Linked DNA regions of Homo sapiens: regions 1, 3, 4 and 5 are each linked to region 2. Evidence: promoter capture Hi-C in 16 types of primary human blood cells and fetal thymus (Javierre and others, 2016). All regions are on one chromosome and are shown on one strand. Each heading gives the region's core, a stretch centred on a gene start or on the middle of the fragment in contact. The rest is flanking DNA. Distances are from core to core; before and after follow the strand shown. Region 1 overlaps CHN2 (chimerin 2). Region 2 holds the start of CHN2 (chimerin 2). Region 3 overlaps CHN2 (chimerin 2). Region 4 overlaps CHN2 (chimerin 2). Region 5 overlaps CHN2 (chimerin 2).

What was found. Contacts are between HindIII fragments. The CHiCAGO score rates a contact against its expected background, and 5 or more counts as called.
Region 1: a contact is called between a fragment that was not itself captured here and the fragment with the promoter of CHN2 in region 2, in 6 of 17 cell types (total CD8 T cells, fetal thymus, naive CD8 T cells and 3 more). The highest score is 8.1, in total CD8 T cells.
Region 3: a fragment that was not itself captured here is called in contact with the fragment with the promoter of CHN2 in region 2 in 2 of 17 cell types (endothelial precursors and megakaryocytes); the score reaches 5.6 in endothelial precursors.
Region 4: a fragment that was not itself captured here is called in contact with the fragment with the promoter of CHN2 in region 2 in 1 of 17 cell types (megakaryocytes); the score reaches 5.2 in megakaryocytes.
Region 5: a fragment that was not itself captured here is called in contact with the fragment with the promoter of CHN2 in region 2 in 1 of 17 cell types (total CD8 T cells); the score reaches 8.6 in total CD8 T cells.

What each region holds. Positions count from the first base shown.
Region 1 is chr7:29,385,970-29,388,669 of GRCh38, forward strand. The region is part of intron 3 of CHN2 (chimerin 2); the gene reads left to right. Among named protein-coding and RNA genes, the nearest start is that of PRR15-DT, 180 kb to the right of the region's middle. The HindIII fragment of the contact is 1,655 bases long and covers 514-2,168 here.
Region 2 is chr7:29,193,428-29,196,127 of GRCh38, forward strand. CHN2 (chimerin 2) reads left to right here and starts at 1,348. Exons shown (of 13, transcript NM_004067.4): 1 at 1,348-1,563. The coding sequence starts at 1,515. It also overlaps a transcript of CPVL not described here. RefSeq lists an enhancer at 2,001-2,636. The HindIII fragment of the contact is 12,795 bases long and covers 1-2,700 here.
Region 3 is chr7:29,359,737-29,362,436 of GRCh38, forward strand. The region is part of intron 2 of CHN2 (chimerin 2); the gene reads left to right. Among named protein-coding and RNA genes, the nearest start is that of CHN2-AS1, 150 kb to the left of the region's middle. The HindIII fragment of the contact is 2,659 bases long and covers 1-2,615 here.
Region 4 is chr7:29,322,330-29,325,029 of GRCh38, forward strand. The region is part of intron 1 of CHN2 (chimerin 2); the gene reads left to right. Among named protein-coding and RNA genes, the nearest start is that of CHN2-AS1, 110 kb to the left of the region's middle. The HindIII fragment of the contact is 2,321 bases long and covers 103-2,423 here.
Region 5 is chr7:29,418,927-29,421,626 of GRCh38, forward strand. All of the region lies in intron 6 of CHN2 (chimerin 2), which reads left to right. Among named protein-coding and RNA genes, the nearest start is that of PRR15-DT, 140 kb to the right of the region's middle. The HindIII fragment of the contact is 5,077 bases long and covers 1-2,700 here.

The DNA of each region.
Region 1 (2,700 bases), core at 91-2,590, 190 kb after region 2:
TTGGTCACCTTTTAAGGAGATTTATTACAGAAAGACTGACCAGTGGACATTTATAGTACATTCTAATCAATACAGGAAGGAATTCACCTCATCAGTGCCCTATTCGATTTCCAGAAGTGTTAAAGAAATGCCATGAGGAAAAAATTAGGCCTTAGATTCTAAATGGAAAGAAATGGGAGATTTTAGAGTCTGCTCAATTTTCATTCTATGCTCTGCACTTTGACTACAAGAGTGTAAATTTCAGTACTTGCATTTTCTTTCTCTCCTTTTCAGTGGGGGAATCTTTGATTTCTAATTAAAAAGGAATTATCTGTATTTATTTTTTGTGGATGAAATTGCCCCAGTATCACCAGCACAAATCCCCCCATCAAAAGCCTTTTCTCCCCTACTTGATCCATCTCTCAGAAAATCCGGCAATCTAGCTGCCCTGTGTAGGAGGCTGCTAAGTCGGGTTTTTAAATTATTTCTATTAAGTAAAAACTTAACATATACCAGCTGCGGAGGGATTACAAAAGCTTTGTTCTTTCAATAATTGGAAACCTTGTTTACAGAGGACTCACAATATTCTGTAAATGTCTTTGTGTTGAACATAAAGGAACTTGTGTTTATCTAGGCAATGATAATCTGACTATAAAGCAAACTCATTTAAGGATTATGCTTTCTGTCTCTCACTGTGCAGCTGTCACCCTACTGTTCTTTGGAGCTTGGCAAAATACTGAGAAGTCTTCCTTAAAATTGAAAAATACATTGGGAAATAAACCAGGTAGTTTGGGAATACACGTGAATCCAAATCACAGGGAAATATTTGAGAGACCCCAAATGTCACTCCATCCTAGGCAAATTTTTCCGAAGTTCACATTTGCCAATTCATTGATGGAATTCAGTTCATTCAAGAGAGATTTTAAGGTCTCGAGTCCTAGCAAAGAAAACTGAAGACCATTCAGATAATCTAATGTATTTAGTCAAACTGTAAATTTTGAGAGCCAACAAAGGCATTAGCGCTGATTAGTATCTACTGGAGAAGGAGTGAAGCACAGTACTTAGGGGTGGTCCCCATCTAGGCTCAGCCACTTAACTAGCTCTGTGACCTCATGCTATTTAGTGGTTCTCTTTAAAATAACAGCACTCACTTACCTTGGAGCATTGTTTAGAGACTTAAATGAGACAAAAGGAGAGAAACCCTCAGGACTCTGCCTGGCACAGAGTAGCCACTCAATAAATGAGAACCTATTGCCACGATGGTCCAAGTCTCACATGTGGGTATCTCATCTAATCTGTGAAACAGCCTTATTAAAATAGCTCATTTTTATAACCCCAGTTTTACTGAAAATTGAGAAAAATGAGATGCAAAGGAGTGTAATAATCTACTCAGAGTCCCACAGTAACTGGATTGATGAGCAAGGGTCCACATGCATATTCTGTGTCTCATTCTGCAAACATGCAATGAGGACAGGCACTCTTGTTTTCCGAATACTCACTATTTGAATATTTGCTATTGGGACTTGCTAAAAGCCATTCCCAATTAGAAACCAGCTATGACACGTTCTCTCATGTGTGGCAGCTTCTCAAACTTTAATGTATCTATGAATCCCCTTAGAATTGCAGATCCCACATTTCTAGCAAATTCCAAGATGATGCCAATACTGCTGGCCCCGTGATCACACTCTGAGTAGCAGGGTGCTGAAAGACAAAGGGTGGGCTTCTCTCATATCTGTGTTCTCCTGATCCTGTTTAAACATATAGCACATTATATCTGTAATTTCCCTACCTTTTCCCTGAGGGTTTAGCCCTTCAGTATTTGTTTAGGCCAGGACCCTAGGAGCACTACCAACTCAGGTCCAATTAGATAGTAACTTTCGAATCTTTGGTAATATCACTGCATTATTTATTTTTATTATAATACATGCTCAGTGTAGAAGGCTAATGAAATTCCTATTTATTCAGCTGTAGACTGCACACAAATATACCTACTCATTACTGCATTAAGTGTTAAACAATTAGGTAATTGTTTTTTAAGTGTTTTATATTGTGAAAAGATTGCTATTAGATTGTCAGGTAATTATTTAGGAGCATTTTAGTAATATTTGGAAAATGGATATTTTTGCATTCTCTAAAAATGAATTTTGTTTTCTGTGTAAAGTAATGGAATATAGACTCTTGCTGTTTGAAGCTTTGCTGCGCTATACATTTTTTAGGAATGGGTGAGACTCAGATAACAAGGGGTAGCTGCATTTACTCTGTGACAGATATTGGCAGAAATCCTGGAAATAGGTGAATGATGAAGACAAAATTGCTGCTCCACAGAACAGTTAGGAAAAAAATGGCAAATAAATATTTAAAATATGGTGAGATAAGTTTTCTAATGGAGACATGTAAAAGGAGCTCTAAGAACACAGCAAGGGATGGGCCTAACCCTTCCTTCTATACAGAGGAGACCTTCTCAGGATCCCGGTGATAGCTCATAGCAACTGACTGGCTGTCTGCGCCAGGCACTGTTGCAAGCATATTACACATATTTATTCATTTACTCTTACAACAACCCCATGAGACAGGTACTTTTATTATCATTCTCATTTTAAAGATAAGAAAACTGAGGAGTATAGAAATAGGTAACTTGCTTAAATTCCCACAGATCTGGCCTCAAACCTAGGCAGTTTGAGTCCAGAGCCTGCCGTCTTAACCCACATGTGATCTGGCTCA
Region 2 (2,700 bases), core at 98-2,597:
AACCATGTTTTAAAAAGTTGAACTACCCCAATGTGAACACTTTCCATTTTTGCTATATAATGAGAGTACTTTCATTCCTTTAATGTTTGCTTTTTCCTTTGATCTAACAATTTCTCTTCAAATTTCACAGTTTTCTGTTGCTTTAGGATTGAAAGAACCGATTAGCCCGCTGGGAGCGTGAAACAGACTTAAAAAAAATCTGCATGGTATTTCCTCCCAGTGAAATTAATTTAGGTTTAAATACAGGGGGAAGGGACACACCTTGTGCTCGAGTCTCTTTCTCTCACACACCTGAGCAGTTCCTATCCTGAAAGGGCACAGTCGGACCTGCTGCCAAGTCTTAAGTCTTTTGTGAGAATCTTTTTTTGCAAGGCACGGAGAACCTCTTTCTCTTTGACACCAGCTTTGTGTGGGCCTGATGACACGTTTGGACGGCTCTATTTCTTTGAAGGCCAACCTCAGAGGCCCACGGACGCGTCGGGCACTGTCCGTGGCTGGGTTACTTAAGTGTAGCTGGGTTGGCTTCCCGGGTGTTTTAGGAAACGCACCTTCTTGCAGGGCAGGGACCGTCAGCTCCAGAGCAACAAAGGACAATTTGGAGAGGAGTGGAAGGAGCGCTCCATAGTGGCTCTGTCATCCCAGGTTCCCTTCTGCCTAGCACCGTGGCCCTAGTGATCCCGCCTTCGCCCTCTGGATCCCCCACCCCCACTGTCTCGCTGCTCGAGAGCCCGGCGGGGCGCGGTGAGCCCCACCACCTTCCCCCACACCCTCCCTCCCCATCCCCTTCAAATCCTAGGAGCAGCGCTGCGCGCAGCAGCCGCGCTCGCCCCGCGCCCGGCCCCGGCCTCCCCAGCACCCCGGGGACCCGGTCCCCCGTCCCGCCTCCCCCTGTCCAGCAGTCCGCAGCCTCCCCCTCCAGCCCCAGTGGCGGGAGCTGTCAAGCCCGCAGCAGCCGAACCACCCCCCGAGCGACCGCGTCTCCTCTTCTTCCTTTGTGTGTGCGCGAGCGGAGTTGGGGCGGAGGGAGAAGGGGGAGGTCGCTCTGTCTGTCCGTCTCCCGCCGCCTCTGCCCGGTCTACTCGAAGTGCGGCGGGAGAGGCGGGAGCCCAGGAGAGGGTGCGGGAGCTGGCGGGGCGGCTCGGAGCTGCCAGGACGCCCTGGTCCCAGCCGCGCACAGGGGAGCGTGGACGGCAGAGGGGCTCGGCGGGAGCCGAGATCCGCCCGTCCCGGCTGCCCCTCGGCCTCCCTCTGCTCCCACCTACCCCCTGACACCCATAGAAAAGCGTGCAAAGGCGCGGAGCGGGACGGAAACCACAAATAAATAGCGGCGGCGGCAGCGCGTCATCTGGTGGAGCAGGAAGTGCAGGCAGAGTCCGGAGGCTGGTGCTTTCTGCGCGTCCCCAGGACTTTGCCATGGGCTGGGGGCCGCGGAGGCTGCGAGCGGCCGGGCGAGGGCAGCGGCGGCGGCGTCCGCACCGGGGCTGAGCGAGCAGCGACGCGAGGGGCGCGCGGAGATGGCAGCGTCCAGCAACTCCAGCCTGTCCGGCTCGTCGGTGTCCTCCGGTGAGTTTCAGCCCGTCGGGCGCTGCTGCCGCGCCGGGTCTCGCCCCACTGCCCTCGCCCCGCAGCCTGGGATGGACAGAGCCTACCTGTGGCCATCCCGCCCGCTCTCTCGGAATGGGGGCAGGCGTCCGGGGTGATACTTGTTTGGTTCGCCAGCACCTCGGTGCCCAGAGCACCTCCGCGCCTGACATCTGACAGCGCAGAGGTGGGAGAGCGGTGGTGCCCTTAGTGTGCGGACGCGGGTGTTCCGGGGCTTGGAGTGCAGCGAGCGAAAAGCGAAAGGAGCGGGCAGGCTCGCACTTTCTGGCGCAGCTGGAGCGGGGGCTGGCGGGGCGGAGAAGGTTGGGGTGAAGCAGAGCGCCCCGACCTGTTTGCCGTGCCGCGCCCGCTACCCTGGACACCCAAATCCGGAGCAGAGGGGAGCAAACCCTCGCTCCTCGCAGACTTGATTTTCTTTGTTTGTTTCAGAAATTAGCTCTATGGAGACACTCGCTTGGGCATGGGTTTTAGACAGCAGCAATGAAGGGATGTATCTTTCTGATCCTGATTGAAGTGGGTTAGGGGAAGAGAGGTCGAGCCCATCCTCTGACTCTTGGCACATTTACGAGAGAGAGAGAGAGAGAGAGAGAGAGAGAGAGAGTGTGTGTGTGTGTGTGTGTGAGAGAGAGAGAGAGAGAGACTCCTTAGAGATTTTCTGATAATAGTGGCTGTAATTTCACTAGCAAGGCATGCATTTTTTTTCCTTTTAAGAATGGTTGAGCAAAGGGAAGGCTTCTTTCAGCTTTTCTATGGTTGATCATCGGGTCTAATTGAAGAGAAAAAAATTGCTAATGAATCTGAAGGAGTAGGAATCAATAGAGGCAGACCCACTGGTTTCTGAGTATGACAGGTTTCTAATCAGAATGATGCATTAGGTAGAATTCCTGTACCTCTCTGGTCATTGAAAACTTTAATGACAAACCCAAAGGGATAGCTGATAAGACATTTAGGGTAGTATACAGTATTTAAGGGTCAAGAAGGTCATGAAGTCCTAATGGAAGTGCTTCAATATATTAATATTGTATTAAGTCCCATTGGGCTGTTTTTATTATTATTCGCGAATTAAACTCAAAGGAAGAAACACCTTTTTGGAGGCAT
Region 3 (2,700 bases), core at 36-2,535, 170 kb after region 2:
ACTTAAAAATAATAATAAAGCTACATTCTAAACTTTAAGCCAGAACTGTATGAACTTTATGCCTCGAGCAGGCAAGTTCAAAAGCCAATCACCATGGTTATGCTCTGAAAGATTTTCTTTCTTAAGAGGCCAAGTGCCAATTAGGCAGCAGATGCAGTGGCTGACAGCTCTCCCTGGAGGCTCCCCTGGGCAGCAGGTCACTCAGGCATAGCTTGTGCCTGTTTTACAGATTTGAAGTTTAGAGCCTCAAAACCCTGATCTGCAGAATCCCTGCATCAGAATCCCTTGGGGAGGATATTTATGATAATTATTCCTCAGCCTTACCCCAGATCTCTGGATCAGAAAAGTGGGGGGATCTGCAATGTATCAAACCCCACAGGTTTCTCTTATACATACTTACGCCTGAAACCCCTCAGTGTGTGGGCAACTGTCATCTCCTCCTAGAGGTTTTTCACAGTGCCATTAGACAAGATAATTAAATCCCCATTAAGACTCGACATTCTGGCCGGGTGCAGTGGCTCACGCCTGTAATCCCAGCACTTTGGGAGGCCGAGGCAGGCAGATCACCTGCGGTTGGGAGTTCGAGACCAGCCTGACCAATATGGAGAAACCCCATCTCTACTGAAAATACAAAATTAGCCAGGCATGGTGGTGCATGCCTGTAATCCCAGCTTCTCGGGAGGCTGAGGCAGGAGAATCCTTGAAGCCAGGAGGCAGAGGTTGTGGTTAGCCGAGATCATGCCATTGCACTGCAGCCTGGGCAACAAGTGCAAAACCCCGTCTCAAAAAAACAAAAAAAATTGACATTCTGTTAGGAAGGCAAGGCCTTCCCATGGCAGGGTGGAGGGTGGGGTTGAGCCAAGGAAGACACCTAAAGCACCTACAATTCCCTGCTTATAAGGTTTTCCCATGAAAATCGGGAAGACATGAGCAGTGAGCAGGGTCATACTGGCTCAGCGTCATGGCCAAGTGCCTGGGTTCAGCTCCTGGGTCCATATACCCTCCTTAGAAAGAAGTAGACTGTTAGAAGCCATCCCTGCAGGATCTCTTAGGAGCTGATGGGGCTGGCCTGGGCTTCAAGGCCACCCAGGCTGTGGGCTTTCACCCATTAGCCGTCTGATTCTGTTCCCAGAGTGAGTCAAGTTTTCTTACTGAAGAAAAAGTAAAACAGTCTGTCAGTGAGCTCACAATTTCTTAATCTGCTTTGGGTTTCTTGGGGAGTTAGGGAGCTCCACCTCCGTGTTCCCCAGTGGCTGCCACCCCTGCCAAACAGCTTACTCTGGTGCTAAGAATTCTCTGGTGTGCGGCAGAGGGCCCGGGGCTGGGAATTCCTGGCACATATTTGGGACATTGCTGCAGAAGTAATTCCATCACGTCACCTCTCAGCTCACAGACCACCCAAGAATTGACATACATTATTGCATGTGACTTGTGAAATGTGTTTGTTGAACAAGGAAAATTCAAGAAGCAACGTTTTCAGATTATGCGATAAATTTCTGTTATATTCAACTCTGCCTCAGAGATTTTTTTCATGGATGCTATAGCTAACCTTGAAAATGATGGGCAGGCTCTCATTTGAAGCTAAGAGAGGAGATTGGGCCTTATTTTTATATGGTTGCCGTGGTAATTGATTGTCATCTCATTATCTTTATAGCCAGCCAGGTAACCCAGATGGCAAATAGGCTTCTGTGCCTACTTGCCAACTTCTGTTGTTTGGAACAGCATAGAACAGGGTTTTGCAGATTCTGAGACCTGCTCATTGAGAAATAAGTCATCAAATAATGATGTCTACTGCCGAGGGGCCAGGAGAGAGAGGTGGCAGTTCCTCGCTTCTGGGGTTTGCCTTCCCCTTCCCTCCTCCAAGTCGCCCCTGGCTGGGGATTGTTCTTTGTTGGTTGTGAGATTGGTGAATTACCAAATTTTTCTTTGCTAAAGCTCAGAGGGTTCCTAGAGAATGCAGCTATGGGATTTAGCCTGTTGACATAGGAGAGGAACTGTCCAGAAATGTTCCATCACCTGCATCCTTTATTTGTATAGTAGCATCTCAATCTCTCAGCCGCTCAGGGTCTCTTTGTAAACCAGTCTTGTTGATTCTCTTTTGAATCTCTGAGGCCATCAACTCACCTTCTCATTTGCATTTGCACCAGTGTTATCTTAACTCACACTTTCACAACCTCATCTGTGTACCAGTAAAACACTGTTCTCTCTTGCTTCCTTGTCTCCAGTGTTCCCCATGTCTGATCCCTCTTTCAGCAAGGCAAAGGACAGTGGCTCCTACTCCTGGATATGCATGAGTCTCTTGAAGAGCTTTAAAAAGAACAGATCTGGGGGCCCCTGGCCGGACTGGGAGAGTAAGCAATGCCAGAGATGGAGTCTAGGAATCTGTATTATTTTATAACTCCTAGGAGTTTCTAATGTGAGCAGCTCCTCATGGGACCTCTCCACCATCTAGTTAGGCAACCACTGGCTGAGGCTGAAAACTACAGCCTTTGGGTTTTGGAAATCAAGGCAATGAATCTTCATTTCATCCTCTGATCTGTGTGACCTTGAGCATCTTCAAAGCTGGCAGGCAACCCCGCTACCTTATTAGTGAGGGGAATAACAGTTACCTTGGAAGCTTTTTGGGAAGATGAAGTGAGAAGATGCATATAATATGCCTGGCACATGGTCTGTGCCCAGAAAAGGGCAGCATTTCTTCTT
Region 4 (2,700 bases), core at 13-2,512, 130 kb after region 2:
GTGGCTTTAACCCATGACAATAGAGATTGGTAAAGAACCAGGTTACAAATTCTAAACCCCACACCCCTGTGATGATGGAACAGCCTTTGCCAAATCTCCCCAAGCTTCTCCAGCTACAAAATGGGCAAAATAAAACTTCTCTTTCTCCTCCTCCTCTTCCTACTCCTCCTCCTCCTCACCTAGTAGGAGTATTGTGAAGATAAAAAGCAATAATTGGTGTGAAAATGCCCTGAGCTCCATAGATGAAAGCTCTCTATAATGTCAACATATCATTACACTGACTTTATTAGGATTTCAATACGGTTCTGTGGCTCATAGAAGTAGCTCTTTCAGCTGGTCATATGAAGTCCTAGGTCTTTACTCCACAAAGGAATTATTTACTGCAAATATAGTCAGGTCAACACTATTCCTAGTCAGGGACGGCCTAGAGTTAGAGGATAGACATGCCTCGATTTGGGAAGCACTGTGTAGCCATGCCTAACAGCTTCTTGTAATGGGGAACGACCTACCTCCTGAAGCAACTTTTGGAGACCACTAGTGTGCTTCCTTGTGGCTGGGTGCGGTGGCTCATGCCTATAATCCCAGCACTTCGGGAGGCCAAGGATCACGAGGTCAAGAGATCGAGACCATCCTGGCCAACATGTTGAAACTCCATCTCTACTAAAAATACAAAAATTAGCTGGGTGTGATGGCATGCACCTGTAGTCTCAGCTACTTGGGAGGCTGAGGCAGGAGAAATGCTTGAAACTGGGAGGCAGAGGTCGCAGTTGAGCCAAGATCGTGCCACTGCACTCCAGCCTGGCCAGAGAGTGAGAATCCGTCCCCCCCGTTCCCCCCCAACAAAAAAAGAAAGTGCTTGCTTGTATTGGCACTGGTTCTCTTTCTCTGCAGCCTTGGACTTCGCAGAGCACATCAACATCTGACCTTTCAGATGTTTGAAGATGGATACCCTGCTCACTCAGAGACATTGCTCACTCAACTTTCTTCAGTTGTGTCTTACATGATGAGGTTTTGAATCCTCTCCTCCAGACGTATTCCAATCCCAGAACTACACTCCAGGTAGTCTGACCAAAGCAGATGGCCCCCTCATTATTCTGCTACCACAGCCTAAGATTACAGAGTTTTTGGTAGCTTTGTCATACTTTACTGGAACAGCCTGAGGGATTCTTCCTGCCTGCTACATAAAGAAAGACCACAGCATTGTAGTAAATAAAGTGCTTAATAGACATGAGGCCGCCTCGCCACGTGGGAGATGGAGTTCATACTTAAATCATCTCATCAAACTTCCTGAGTTAGGGGTTTTTCAAAGGCAGTTTAGGGGGAAGGGTGGGGTGGCTGGGCTTGCTGCTGATTGGTTGGGGCAGAGATTAAATTATAGGGGGTTGAGGCTGGGCGCGGTGGCTCACACCTGTAATTCCAGCACTTTGGGAGGCCGAGGCGGGCGGATCACGAGGTCAGGAGATCAAGACCATCCTGGCTAACATGGTGAAACCCCGTTTCTACTAAAAATACAGATACAGAAAAAATAGCCGGGCGTGGTGGCAGGCACCTGTGGTCCCAGCTACTGGGGAGGCTGAGGCAGGAGAATGGCGTGAACCCGGGAGGCGGAGCTTGCAGTGAGCAGAGATTGTGCCACTGCACTCCAGCCTGGGCGACAGAGCGAGACCCCGTCTCAAAAAAACAAAACAAAACCAAAAAAAAGAAAAAAAAAGTTATAGGGGGTTGAAGCTGTCCTCCTGTGGGTTGAATCACTTTTGGGAGGTGGGGGGCGGGCACAGGAGTGGGGTTGGTGGGTCCATTGGAGCCGTAAGTGTCAAGACATTCAAAACACTTGAAAAGATATCTCAAAAGGCCCATCTTAGGTTCTACAATAGTGATGCTATTTGCAGGAGTAGTTGAAGTTGCGTATCTTACAACTTCTGGAATCATGGCTGATAATCGTTTACACCTGCACCTTAGCAGCACGCATGCATCTCTTCTCCACACAGCCTGATGGCCTCCCATTAGCTTTATAAAAGTGATTGAATTTTGAGGGAGACCTTTTATCATTTAAACCATAGCCTAAATGTCTCTCAAAGTCCGCTTGGCCCAAAAGCCCAGGAATAATTTAGGGAAAGGCAAGATAGGGGTTGGGTTAGTTCAGCTGTTACAATTTTTCTCACTGATAGAATTTTTGCAAAGCCATTTCATTACTGTTAGAGTGACACTGTTGACAATCTCTGCATCTGTACCATATGTACCCCTGCTAGATCGTGTCTTCTAACATCAGCTGTGACTTTTTTTTTTTTTTTAATTTTTGACAGAAAGTTACATCTATCTCTCAACTGAAAATTTTATTGAATTTGGTGCCAAGCTATTCAGGTCTTTTTAAATCCACATTTTGCTGTCTAATATATTAACCACCCCCTGCAGGTGGTAATCCAAGCTTCTGGGCATTTATTCTAGAAAGAGTAAAGGGTTTATTTCTTGTAAATATAGGGAAGTTTAATTTGATCCACTGTACATGGATAGTTTTGATAAGAATGCTCCCTGCTTTTGATTAAATATTCCCTGGGATAAGAACAAGAAATACTTTCCTATCAACTAATGCATGCCCTTTGTAACTCTATAATTGTCAATCATCAAGTTATTGAGCTACCTGTCTCTGTGTCTAAAATGCTTTGCTGAAGTCCCCCTTGTCTGCTTCATTTTCTCTGGTCT
Region 5 (2,700 bases), core at 123-2,622, 230 kb after region 2:
ACATGAATATTCATTAATAAGCCCATAAGAGGGATTCTGATGAACTGAAATTCTGGATTTTGAAGGGCCAGTCAGGATGACTTCTCAGCGTACCAGTATGCAGTGGGCACATGGTGGCAGTTCTTTTTTTAAATTTTCCAAGAACTGACAACTGTTAGGCCAGTCTTGGGTGTGCCTGTGTATAAAGTTTCTAGCAAACTTAGAGTCAACTTTCTGGGGTAGACACCTCAAGGCTTTGTTTAATTGTTAGTTAGATAGTTAGAAATAATCACCACCAATTTACACCTAGCACAGTGTTCTGAATCTACTACCAGATTAAAACTCAGTCTAGAGGTATTGGGAATACTGGATATTCACATGCAGAAGAATGAATTTGGACTCTTACTTTTCACCAAATACACTAACATTAAATTTATTAACTACCTACACATAAGACCTAAAATTATAGAACTCCTAGAAGAAAATATAGGGGAAAGCTCCATGATATTGGGGCTGGCAGTGATTTCTTGGATGTGACACCAAGAGCACAGGCAACAAAAGCACATATAGACAAAAAGGATAATATCAAACTTAAAATTTTCTATGTGTCAAAGGATGCAATCAACAAAGTGAAAAGGCAACTTATGGAATGGGACAAAATATTGCAAATCATATATCTAATAAGGGTTTAATATCCATAATGTATTTTTAAAAACTCCTACAACTCAACAACAACAACAACAAAAGTAAATAACCCAATTTAAAAATGGGCAAAGGACTTGACATTTGTCCAAAGATGATACTCAGATGGCCAACAAGCATATGAAAAGATGCTCTACATCATTAATCATTAAGGAAATGCAAATGAAAACCACAAGGAAATATTATCTCACACCGGCCGGGTGCAGTGGCTCATGCCTGTAATTCCAGCACTTTGGGAGGCCAGGAGTTCCAGACCAGCCTGGCCAACATGGTGAAACCCCGTCTCTACTAAAAATACAAAAATTAGCCAGGCATGGTGGCACGCACCTGTAATCCCAGCTACTCGGGAGGCCGAGGCAGAAGAATTGCTCAAACCCAGGAGGCAGAGGTTGCAGTGAGCCAAGATCATGCCACTGCACTCCAGCCCAGGTGACAGAGTGAGACTCCATCTCAAAAAAAAAAAAAAAATTATCTCACACCTATTAGGATAGCTACAATTAAAAAAAAAAGTAACAAGTGTTGGTATGGATGTGGAGAAATTGGAAGCCTTGTGCATTGCTGCTGAGAATGTAGAATGGTGCAGCTGCTATGGAAAACAATATGGCAGTTCTTCAAAGAAACAAAAATAGAATCACCATATGATCTAACAATTCCACTTCTGGGTATATAGCCAAAAGAATTGAAAGCAGGATCTCAAAGAGAAATTTGTATACCCATGTTCATAACAGTATTATTCTCAATAGCCAAGAGGTAGAAGCAACTCAAGTGTCTATGGATGGATGAATGAATAAAGAAAATGTAGTATAGACATGCAGTGGAACATACTTTAGCTTTAGCTTCAAAAGGAAGGAAACCCTGTCCTGTGCTGTAACATGGATGAACTTTGAGGACATTATGCTAAGTGAAATATGTCAGACATATTCTGTCTAAGAATCTTTGTTTATACTAAGACAAATACTGTCTTAATATGAGGTATCTAAAGCAGTCATATTCACAGCAACAGAATGTGAAATGCAGAATGGTTGTCAAGGGCTGAGGGGAGAAGGAAATGGGGAATTGTTCAACAAGTTTTAGTTTTGCAAGATGAAAAAGTTCTGGAAATCAATTGTACAACAATGTGAGTATGCTTAACATTACTGAACTGTACACTTGAAACAGTTAAGATGATAAATTTTAGATTATATGGGTTGTTTTTTCTTCTTTTCTTTCTTTTTTTTTTTGAGATGGAGTTTTGCTCTTTTGCCCAGGCTGGGGTACAGTGGTGCCATCTTGGCTCACTGCAACCCCTGCCCCCCAGGTTCAAGCGATTCTTCTGCCTCAGCCTCCTGAGTAGTTAGGATTATAGGCACCCACCACCTAATTTTGGTATTTTTGGTAGAGACGGGGTTTCGCCATGTTGGCCAGGCTGATCTTGAGCTCAGGTGATCCACCCGGCTCAGCCTTCCAAAGTGCTAGGATTACAGGCGTGAGCCACCATGTCCGGCTATATGGGTTTTTAAACCACAACTAAATTTAGAAAGAAAAACTCAATCTAGAGAAGCAGATAGTACCAACACCTTTCTTGTACTTTCAATGAAGGTCAACTCAAGTTCATTTCTCTTGCCCAGCACCAGAGGTTGATCTGAAGCCAGCCTGTCTGAGAGTCAGCAACAGAGTCAGCCGCACTGGGACTGTTCAGATCTTCAGCCTACCCAAGGGCAGACTCCCCAAATTAAAAATTACCCCCCATTTCCTGCCTTTGGGCTACTTTAGTGCCTCTCAGAAGTGTCCTCAGGGAAACGGCTCTGGAAGGAAGTAAAACTGAAGGCAGAGCTGGTAAAAAGTTCTGTGCACAGAGGAATGTGAGGCTACTGGCTAAAAACGACTGGGTTTCAAGTAGTCTTGCACCTGCCGCCCTAACCACACATAAGAGAAGTGACTATTGGGACAACCAAAGCTCCTTGATGCCTGCACTTCCTCCTGCTTTATTTCTTCATCTCCAAAGGGATTCATCCAATGACTTCTTTTGGCAGGAACATT